Linked DNA regions of Homo sapiens: region 2 is linked to region 1. The links are contacts of gene promoters, found by promoter capture Hi-C in blood cells and fetal thymus (Javierre and others, 2016). All regions are on one chromosome and are shown on one strand. The core of a region is centred on a gene start or on the middle of the fragment in contact, and the rest is flanking DNA. Distances in the headings are between cores, read along the strand shown.

Evidence for each region. Contacts are between HindIII fragments. The CHiCAGO score rates a contact against its expected background, and 5 or more counts as called.
Region 2: a contact is called between a fragment that was not itself captured here and the fragment with the promoter of POT1 in region 1, in 2 of 17 cell types (megakaryocytes and erythroblasts). The highest score is 10.1, in megakaryocytes.

Annotation. Positions count from the first base shown.
Region 1 is chr7:124,925,551-124,931,150 of GRCh38, forward strand. It overlaps POT1 (protection of telomeres 1), which reads right to left and starts at 4,275. Exons shown (of 19, transcript NM_015450.3): 1 at 4,244-4,275; 2 at 3,265-3,449. POT1-AS1 (POT1 antisense RNA 1) reads left to right here and starts at 4,323. Exons shown (of 8, transcript NR_125719.1): 1 at 4,323-4,466. RefSeq lists enhancers at 4,211-4,510, 4,265-4,559. The HindIII fragment of the contact is 3,988 bases long and covers 576-4,563 here.
Region 2 is chr7:125,672,886-125,677,932 of GRCh38, forward strand. No RefSeq gene overlaps it. Among named protein-coding and RNA genes, the nearest start is that of LINC02830, 520 kb to the left of the region's middle. The HindIII fragment of the contact is 5,812 bases long and covers 117-5,047 here.

The DNA.
Region 1 (5,600 bases), core at 3,025-5,524:
AATGCAATCCTTATCAAATTACTGATGTCATTCTTCACAGAATTAGAAAAAAACAATTCTAAAGTTCATATGGAACCAAAAAAGAACCCAAATTGCCAAAGCAATCCTAATCAAAAAGAACAATGCTGGAGGTACACGTTGCCTCACTTCAAAATGTATTACAAGGCTACAGCAACCAAAATAGCATGGTACTAGTATAAAAATAGACACACAGATAAATGGAACAAAATAGAGAAACCAGAAATAAAGTCAAATACTTACAGCCAACTGATCTATGACAAAGATGGCAAGAACACTACACTGGGGAGAAGACACACTTTTCAATTAATGGTGCTGGGAAAACGGGATTGCCACATGCAGAAGAGTGAAACTGGAACGTATATGTCACCATACACGAAAATAAACTTAAGACGGATTAAAGATTTGAATGTAAGACCCAAAACTATAAAAATATAGAAGAAAACCTAGGAAAAACTCTTCTAGATATTGGTTTAGGCAAACAATTCATGACTAAGACCTCAAAAGCACAGGCAATAAAAACACAAATAGACAAATGAAACTTAATTAAGCTAAAAAGCTTCTGTGCTACAAAAGAAATAACAGAATGAACAATCTCAGGAATGAGAGAAAATATTTGCAAACTATACATTCAACAGAGGACTAATATCCAGAATTTACAAGGGACTCAACCAAAAAACCCCCAAATAAGCCCATTAAAAAGTGGGCTAAGGACATGAACATTTTTCAGAAGAAGATAAACAAATAGCCAACAAGCACATGATAAAATGTTCAATATAACTAATCATCAGTAAAATGCAGATTAAAACCACAATGAAATATCACCTTACACCAATCAGAATGGGTATTAAAAAGACAAAGAAAAAACAGACATTGGGGTGCAAAGAAAAAGGAATTGTTATACACTGTCGGTGAGAATGTACATTAGTACAACCTCTATGGAAAACAGTATAATGAGTTTTCGAATAACTAAAAATAGAACTACCATTTGACCCAGCAATCCCACTACTGGGTATGTACCCAAAGGAAAAGAAATCATTAAATAAAAAAGAGACCTGCACTCATATGTATACCACAGCAGTATTCAAAATCACAAAGATATGCAATCAACCAAAGTGTACATCGATGGAGGACTGGATTTAAAAAGTCACATATGTACACAATACTATTTAGACATTAAAAAGAATGAAATTATGTCTTTTGCAGCAACATGGATAGAAATGGAGACCATTATCTTAAATGAAACAACTGAGACACAGAAAGAGAAATACTGCATGTTCTCACTCAAAAATGTGAACTAAATAATGTGTACACACAGAAGCAGAGTGTACAGAGATGGACAATGGAAACTTGGAGGGGTAGGGGATTAGGAGTGGAGTGGATGATGGGAGGTTGCTTGGTGGGTACAAGCTGCATTGCTCCAGTGACAGATGCACTGAAGGCCCTTACTTTACCACAGTGCTATATATCAACATAGCAAAACTGCACTTGTTTCCCACACCTATTTACAAAATAAATTTTAAAAATTTTGTTTAAATTATCAAAAGTATCACAACTCATTTCTTGAAAGACATTTTCTGCTTTCATTTTTTCACCTGACATTCAATCCTCAAACTACTGAAAAATGAATTTGCTCTTAGTGTTTAAGCAAAACTAATCTTTCCAAGTGATCAATAATTTCTTGGTTATTAGAATGAACAGATACTTTTCAGACCTTTGAGCATCTAATAGCAACATAATGCTCTGTTTAGTAGCAAAGACAATGGGAATGCAAATCACTGCTCAGCCACTTACTGGCTATTAGACCTTGAATAAATCACTTAACCTGTGTTTGTTTTCCAGCTATAAAATGAGAATAATACTTAGAGTTCTTAGGAGAGAACATATACAAAGAGATTACATATACAAAGCATTTAGGAGAGTGCCTACTAGACAACAATCTATACAAGTGTTATTGAAACTTGCATTCTTACGTATCAAAGACTCCTGAGTTTCTTCCTCCTTCTCTAGACCATCTCTGCTACTTATTCATACTACTTTCTTTCACTGACTCCTTCAACATGGTTCTCTTCTCTTCTATGCTTTGGCTCAAACCCATCTAAATGAGAGTCCCTTTGGGCTTCAAACTCCCCAATCCACTTGCCTACTGCACACTACTATTTATATACCTCTAAAGACCTTTCAAATATGACCAAAATTGAACTTATCATGTTTCTCCCTAAGTATGTACCCCCTATTTTCTTCTCCTTGTTGGCTAGGAATTAGAAACAGAAGTTTCCTGAATTTCTCTTTGCCACTCTAGTCTAATTGTTCTCTAAGACCTACTGATTCTGCTTCTTTATCCTGTCAGGTCTAAAGGAAATCATCTATATTCAAATTCCTGCTCTACTTCATATCATCAATATGATCTCAGGCAAATTGCTTAACCTTTCTGAAACACAGTGTCTTTAATAACAGTACCTATGTCATAGGTCTTTGTGATGATTAAATAATATACGTAAAAACTACCTAACGCATGGAAAAAAATGCAATGAATGTTAACTTTAGTTATTATTATTACTATCTTTTTTCAATATCCTTCCCATCATCCCCTCTGCCACTGGCCCAGATCATCATCAACTCTCACCTAAATTACTGTAATTGCCTCTTAACTAAACATCTTTCCTCTAATCTTGCATTCGCCAATATATTCTCTACCTAGGAGCAAAGTTTTTTGAACTCAAAGTAAATCATGTCTTTCTCCTGCTAAAACCTACTAAAGACTTCCCATAGCTTTTAGAGTAATATCCAAATTCCTCAACATGCACATAAGGACTGCTTTTTACCTCAAAGGAAGGTACAGCACAGTCTGTTATCCCGTAAGTTCCAGCTCAACTTTCGTGATCTGTCAGAACCAAAAGCTCTCTCATGTTCACACATCACAATGCTAATATCACACCTATTAATTTTAATTGGAGATCAGGTGATTGATCTGTCAGACCCCACAGAAATGTGATTATCTTTAGTTCCGGGACTATATTTATTCATCTTTGTACCTCAGAAACTTACTCCAATGTTTCACACACGAATTTGATAATTGTTCGCTAAATAAGTACTGAATAAGAATAACTTATTGAAATATTCAATCTCAAATGTTATGACAAAGATAAAAACCATACCTAAACCAGTTCTCATAAATAAACTCAACACTTAAAAACTGCATTCCTTTTAGTAGGAAAAAGCATTCTGAGTTATAGAAATTCTTACCTGAATATATTTCTTGCTATAATTGTAACCTGGCTGTAGGGATCCGAAATCTACTTTATGTAATTTACTCAGCGGCTGAACTTCAGGCACCCCATTGACTTCCTTTATTAATTCAAGTGGCATATCAGTTCTGCTTCACACTGATGTCCAAAGCAAATTCAACTAGGGAATCTGACAACTTGCTGCTGAAAATACAAAACCAGTGTTTTACCCAAAATGAAGTCAATAATTTGCTTTAAGTCTCTTTGACTTAGTTATGCTTTTCCTTATTATAGTTAACACGGTTCGGGGTTGGGGGGTGACAGGAGGATGGATTATTTTACAATTTTATTGCAAAGATCAATACAAAACATTCTTCCAAGGAACTGAAACTTAACCATTTTCTACTTAGCTGCGTAAAGTACCTCCAAAAAGCCAGTTTTAAGATCTGTAACGTCACTAACAAACGCTTTTAACATTGTGCTTTAAAATGTAAAATTTATTGGGGAAGAGGGAGGCTGAAAAATCGTGTTTTTTTTTAACCCCCACGGGAGCTGTAATATTGTATAGACAAACTGTGCACCAAAAGCATCGTACTCCAACATGTTTCTGTGGCCCCCTCCCTTCACCCGCTAAATAAATGAAGAAACAAAAATTACTGAACTGAGATTAACTTCTGCATCGTAGGCTCAACCTTATTTCACAGACCTCTTGACGGGGACACTCACTAGTGTCGATATCTAATTTTAATGTTTGCGCACCAACCTTCCCCCAAGCCACCTGAGCTCTGTGAGGGCGGGGACTTGGACTTAACTCCTGTCTGCTTCTCCCAAAACACCAAGAAAGATGCTGAACACAGCAGGCTCGAGATAAACACTCGTAAGAAAGCGTTTCTCTGCGATAATTACATCAAATTTTGATCTAAACTAATTCAATCCCGGGCCCGTTACGTCTGGCACCCACTCAAATGAACACACCAAACCTTACAAATTTCACTCACCCGTACTCTAGAAAGAACCCTAGGAAGAGTTTAGGCGGGCGCGCAGGTGACGTCACACGCACGCTGACGGTTCAGCTCCACGCATGCGTGCAGGATCCCTGGGCATAGTCGCTTGTTCTCCGCCCGCGGTGGACCAGCTGCGTAACGGTTCACACACTGATGGCGCCTGGAGGTTTGGCGAAATACTGACAGGATGCGACGTCAACGGGAGCGCAGGGCCAAGGTACAGGCCCCGCCCAGTCCGGTCACATCCCCCGGAATTCTCGCAGCTCCCCTTAGCTCCGCCCCCAGTGACTTTCCAGCTTTCGTGGCGGGAGGCAAGCTTAGGGGAAGCGGGCGGGTCCGCTGGGCGGGATTTGAGCTTCCCTTTGGTAGATTCGAAGCTCCTGTAGGCAGAGCCTTTCTTTTAATGTCCAGTTCTCTTCCTCCAAGAAATAGGCACCTACTGCAGTCTTTACAAGGAAGCATTTACAAGGATAACAATGTTATTTGGGAGTTTTTATAGTAATTTCGGGCATTGGCATAATGCCACCATTGAGTCTTGCTATTTACAGACAGATTTGATTAACCTTGTCATTGTTTTATAGGGCCATGATTTTGTGGTATAATTAATATTTATTATAATTTATTTTATAGGTTTATTATAGTTTATTTAATATTTATTATAACTTATAATTGATAAATATTATAATTTATCATTTATAATGATAAATTGTTAAACATGAATTCTCTGCTAATTCCAGATATATGCCTTCAATCATTTAAGTGAAATCATCCTAGTGTGAAACTAAATGTAATAAAGAATTACATGAATATTTCCAAGGCTAATTTGAACTAAAATATCTTCTTTATATACATATTTGCAGGAGGATATAGCTAACTTTTTTTTTTTTTTTGAGACGGAATCTCGCTCTGTCACCAGGCTGGAGTGCAATGGCGCAATCTCGGCTAACTGCAACCCCCACCTCCCGGGTTCAAGCAATTCTTCTGCCTCAGCCTCCCTAGTAGCTGGGATTACAGGCGCAGGCCACCATGCCTGGCTAATTTTTGTATTTGTTTAGTAGAGACGGGGTTTCCCATTTTGGCCAGGCTGGTCTCGAACTCCTGACCTTGTGATCCGCCCACCTTGGCCTCCCAAAGTGCTGGGATTACAGACATGAGCCACTGTGCCCAGCCAGCTATGTTTGAAGTGCCTTTTTAATCAACAGGAAGCATTCAGTATTAGCCCATCTCCTGTTTCCCCTCCCCATCCCTGTAGTTATATCCCACGCAGAAGCCGGGGTGACAAGTGCATGAACTCAGGAGCTGTCCATTTGAGGAAAACTATAGGGAAGGTTTAGATGCTATCCTCCTTCCA
Region 2 (5,047 bases), core at 1,773-4,272, 750 kb after region 1:
CTTATTTTATTTATCCATTAACACACACAAATATGCAGCACATACCATGTGACAAGTACTGGTCTACATACTTTCTTACATTAGTGATCATAACGACAAAGTCCCAGTTTGAGTGAAGCTTATATTACACTTAGGGAGGAAAAATAGTATATAGACAAAAAACAACATGTATAACAGAAATGTTGATTGTATAACATGTTAGAAGATAGTAAATATGTTCTAGGAAAAGGAAATTTGCAAATGTCAGTATGAGTGGATATGGGCACAGTAATTGTAGGAAATAGAAAACATTAAAATCAAAAATCAAAATCAGAACACATCGATGTTTCAGCATAAATAAAATTGATGATTATGCTTTTAAAAAAACTTTACATATAGCTTTCAATATATCATATCACTAACCTCTTCCTTTATCAATAAATAAATGCCTTTATCTGACAGAAGTTTGTCCAACCTGTGGCCTGTGAGTCACAAGCAGCCCAGGACAGCTTTGAATCCAGCACAACACAAATTCATAAACCTTCTTAAAACATTATGAGATTTTTTTTGCAATTTTCTTTTTAGCTTATCAGTTATCGTTAGTGTTCATGTGTTTTATGTGTGGTCCAGGACAATTCCTCTTCCAATGTGGCCCAGAGAAGCCAAAAGATTGGACACCCACCCCTGATAAAAGATCCGTATTTATTGGTTCCACACTCAGTACAAGATGTTGTTCTGTCACTCAAATTTAATATAAATAATAGTTAATGAGCTTTTTTTTTTTTTTTTTTTGAGACGGAGTCTCGCTCTGTCTCCCAGGCTGGAGTGCAGTGGCGGGATCTTGGCTCACTGCAAGCTCCTCCTCCCGGGTTCACGCCATTCTCCTGCCTCAGCCTCCCGAGTAGCTGGGACTACAGGTGCTCACCACCATGCCTGGCTAATTTTTTGTATTTCTACCATTTCTAGTAGTGTGGATGCAGGAAAAAAAAAAATATCTACAAGGTATTTTATTGTTTCAAGATTTGTTAGATTATGATGATGGCAGGACATAACAACAATGACTCCAGAAAAATGAAAGGCAGAATTCTTTATTACTTATATAGTCCTGCACGAGAGGCGGCTGTGGGGTAGGGCTACATAGGGGTTGCACCCAGAAAAAAGGTAGCAGCAACCTAGAAACCTAGGAGGAGGCTTATATAAGGCAAGTCAAGTGAGTGAGCAAGGTTCAGAGGGTTTGTTATGGACTGGGAATTTTAAATAATTCCATGGGCCCAATGAAGGAAGGGCCATTCCTCCATATGTGGCTCCCAGGCTTTTGGCAGTTGGGTACGTATGTAGTAAAACGGAGCAGCAGAGCCCGATAAGGTAAATCACTGGGGTGTAGGTTTAGCAAACAGCCTGGGAAGAAGACTTGAAGATTTTTTGGCAATGGTCTCAAAACTGGATCAAGACAGCACTTGTGCAATATTATATTGTAATACATCTCTGCAGGGAAAGTATATTATAATTGTGGAGGTGCACATAAAACATAAAGAGGAACACATAAAATGCTTTTTGAATTATAATCATTCATATTTGCCCACTATTATGATTTCATAATATCTTGGCTGTATTATTGACATATTCCTACTTTTTCTCTATGTACTAGTACTCTATCACATGATCAATTTACAGTAGAAAACCAGATAATTCTTTCTAATACACATATTGCATCTATTCCATGCCTTCAATGAATTTCCCATTGTTTAAACTATAGGTCAAGAAACTGTCCAATTGCTATACTTGTTTGGGAAGTTTTATACAAAATACAGATTTCTGTGATTAAGCATGTCTAGAGAGAAGCATATAAATCTTAATGAATTTTAGTACTTTCTAGCATGTAAATATATTTTTTCTAATTATTGAAAAGATGATTGGTTAGGATTCAGACGAAAAAAAAAAAGTATACACTGTTCCCATTAAAGTAACTAGGAAGCCACTACAACCAAGAAGTTGCCAGAGGTGAATGCCTTCTCTGCCTCTACAGGTTCCAAAACCACGTCGGCTCTGATCACATGAACACAATGAGTTGCCGCAAGGCTAGTGACCAGATAGTTTCAATAGCCCAAAATGGTCAAAGTCCGCACTATCATAAGTACTCACATTAGCCATCAAAGTAATAATGCTATCAAATGTGATGTAGCCTTTAGAATACTCTACTGTACACCCATGAAATAATGAGTGTGTAAAGGGTTCAAATGTCTAAGAGTCCTTAGAATCAGGGTTCTCTAAGTATTCTGAAAACCATTGTCTTGGGGCAATAGTCATTTACAGAATTTGTAACTCTCCCTGAACTATCTAAGCTCAGATTATGAAATGTTACATAAATGGGAATCATAATTGTTAGTGTCTCGGGAATCAGGTTTGAACATTAATGCAGCAGTAACAAATGTAAGACTTTATTTTCAGGACAAAATAAACTATTTACATGATTATGTTTCTATCTATTCACATGATGGGTAGAACACATGACATCATCACTTTTAGATGAAAAACATTGAACATTAGAAATGGTTTGGTTTGCACTAAATAGGACATGAATAATATTCTGCTTTAATTTTAAAAATGCAAAAAAAAAAAATGTATGTGTATCTTATTGTGCATTTCACTTTGAAAGTTAGGTACACCATACATCGCATACGGTATCCAAATATATTTCAACCGTGATGAAAATTTAGTTATCATGTTTTTTTCTAAATGGAAATTTAGTCTTATTTTCATACCAGTATTATAAGTAGATTTCTGTTTTGGAGTTTGCAAAGCTAAAAAAATCTTTAGTTAAATATGGGAATAGTTCTGCCAACATTCAGTCTTGGAAATTATGGACAGTGAGTTCTAATCCCGTTTTGCCAGTGACTCTTCTGTGGCATTGAACATGTCATTTTGCTTTTCTGTTTCAGTTCTGTCATCTGTGAAGCAGAGATAATATTGTTCATTTGAGCACATTGTTCCAGTCTGTATCCTCTGAATGACTTTGCAAAAGAAACTCTGCATATGAATTTGAATATATGCCAACAAAATTAGAACAAGTTATCTACTTCAAAAGTATGCAAAAACGAACCAATAGAAATCATTTTGGAAATGCACTATGTGCATTCCTAAATTGGAGCAAATTTATCATTCTAGGCAATCCACCTCCACATTTATAAAAATATAAGAGATAATTGTTTTTCTCTTATTGTAGAAAAAAGTAAACTACCGAAGTACAATTTGTCTCTTTCTCTTTGGAAAGGTTATAATCGTATCACAATCAACTATATCTGTTAATCAGATTTGGTGCTAGTTGTTCCCAATGACAAAAATAGAGCAGTATAAACATTTCTACCCTCTGTTTTGTTAAGTAATCAAATTTTTCAGCCTCAGACAATTTCAATATTACTAGTTAGAAACAACAACAACAAAGTTCCTGAATTCTCCAGAGGTAACAGTATCAATTTTACTCAGAAGTACTACCCCAGACAGAGAAAAATAAATACGTAAGTCTGAGTTTTTGTTTGTTTGTTTACCGTCCTTAACATTTATATCTTTAGTAGTCTTAGCCTTGTTTCTGCTACTCCAAAAATCATGATTGGTATCTTCAAGGTACAATTTTATCAGAAGGAATAGCATACTAATTATGATTGCAGGATCTGTAATAAAAAAATGTGGGTTTGAATTTATTTTCCCATTTACGAACTACATATTATTTCAAAAACTACCTATTGTAATGAATGTGTAATTGTAATAAATATTAAATAATGTGCTTGATTATAGATAGATTAACATTTGCTTTATACAATTAAAGGAAATCTATTATTTTAGAAACATCCCTTTGAACGGATTGAACTCTGATTAACGTATAAATCTTAGAGTTGCATTATCTCACAGATAGATAAATTTAACTAAATTTGAGTTTAAAAATGTTTGGAGGAAAACAGATGAAAATTAATAGTGGTACTCACATTGAGAGGATAGAATTTAGTATTTTAAATATTGTTTCCTTAGACTATTCTACATTTGCCAAATGTTCTATGATGAGTATGTCTAAATTCTACAGTGTTTTCTGTTCATCTTACATTAAGTTTTGTTACCTACTTGTTTTAGTTTCCTTATTAGTAAAACAACAAATAATATTACCTTGTTAGACTTTTGTAAAAATAAACAAGTAAAATTTAAACAGAAGTAATAAACAATATTTTACCATTTTTTAAAATCTATTGAGACAGTTGTATCTCCAAGCCTTCTCCTACACAACTTATTCCATTTCAGGTTTGTATCTTTAATTCTTAACTATGAGGAAAGACTCTTGCAACTTTAGGACAAACATCAATATTTTAGTGACAGTGGCCTGGGGGCTGACCAGCTTATTTGGTTAGAACATTGTGTAGAGGATAGATGCTATGGGTTCGACTCATACATGGCAATTCATTTATTCATCCAAGAATCATTTACCAAGAATATCCTAAGTTTCTGTGCTAGGCAATGGCAAGAAAAATGAATTATAAAGTGTCCCTCTTAGTAACATCTTAGCTAGTAAGACCAACTTGTTCAGCACCTGCAGATGTCATTTCACTGTCTTCTGACTTTCATTGTTTCAGATTAGAAGTCATCTTTAATTCTGATCTTTTTTCCCCTGTATGTATGAAACTTTCTTCTCTGGCCAATTTTAAGATTTTTTTTCTTCCTCATGTTTTACGCAATTTTATTATAATATACCTTGGTGTGGTTTGTGTTTTCTCCTTGGGGTTTTTTGAGCTTCTTGAATAAAATCACATGTAATGATTTTGTGATATCTCTCCCAGGAATAAGAATAAAAAAAAAATCAGCATCTTTTCTTTCAAAAATGCATTGGCTCTCATCCTTACTCCTGTTACTACCCAGTTAAGCCTCTTTAGTTTATTTTAAAAACTTTTTTGCTCATGGAAAGAGTAAGTAATTGCAGAAGTACTACAATGCTGTAGGTCATCACAGTGATATGAATCGCTGCTTGAAAGAACAATAACTCTGACATGGTTACTACTCTTCACCCACAGAATCAAATTTTCATAGC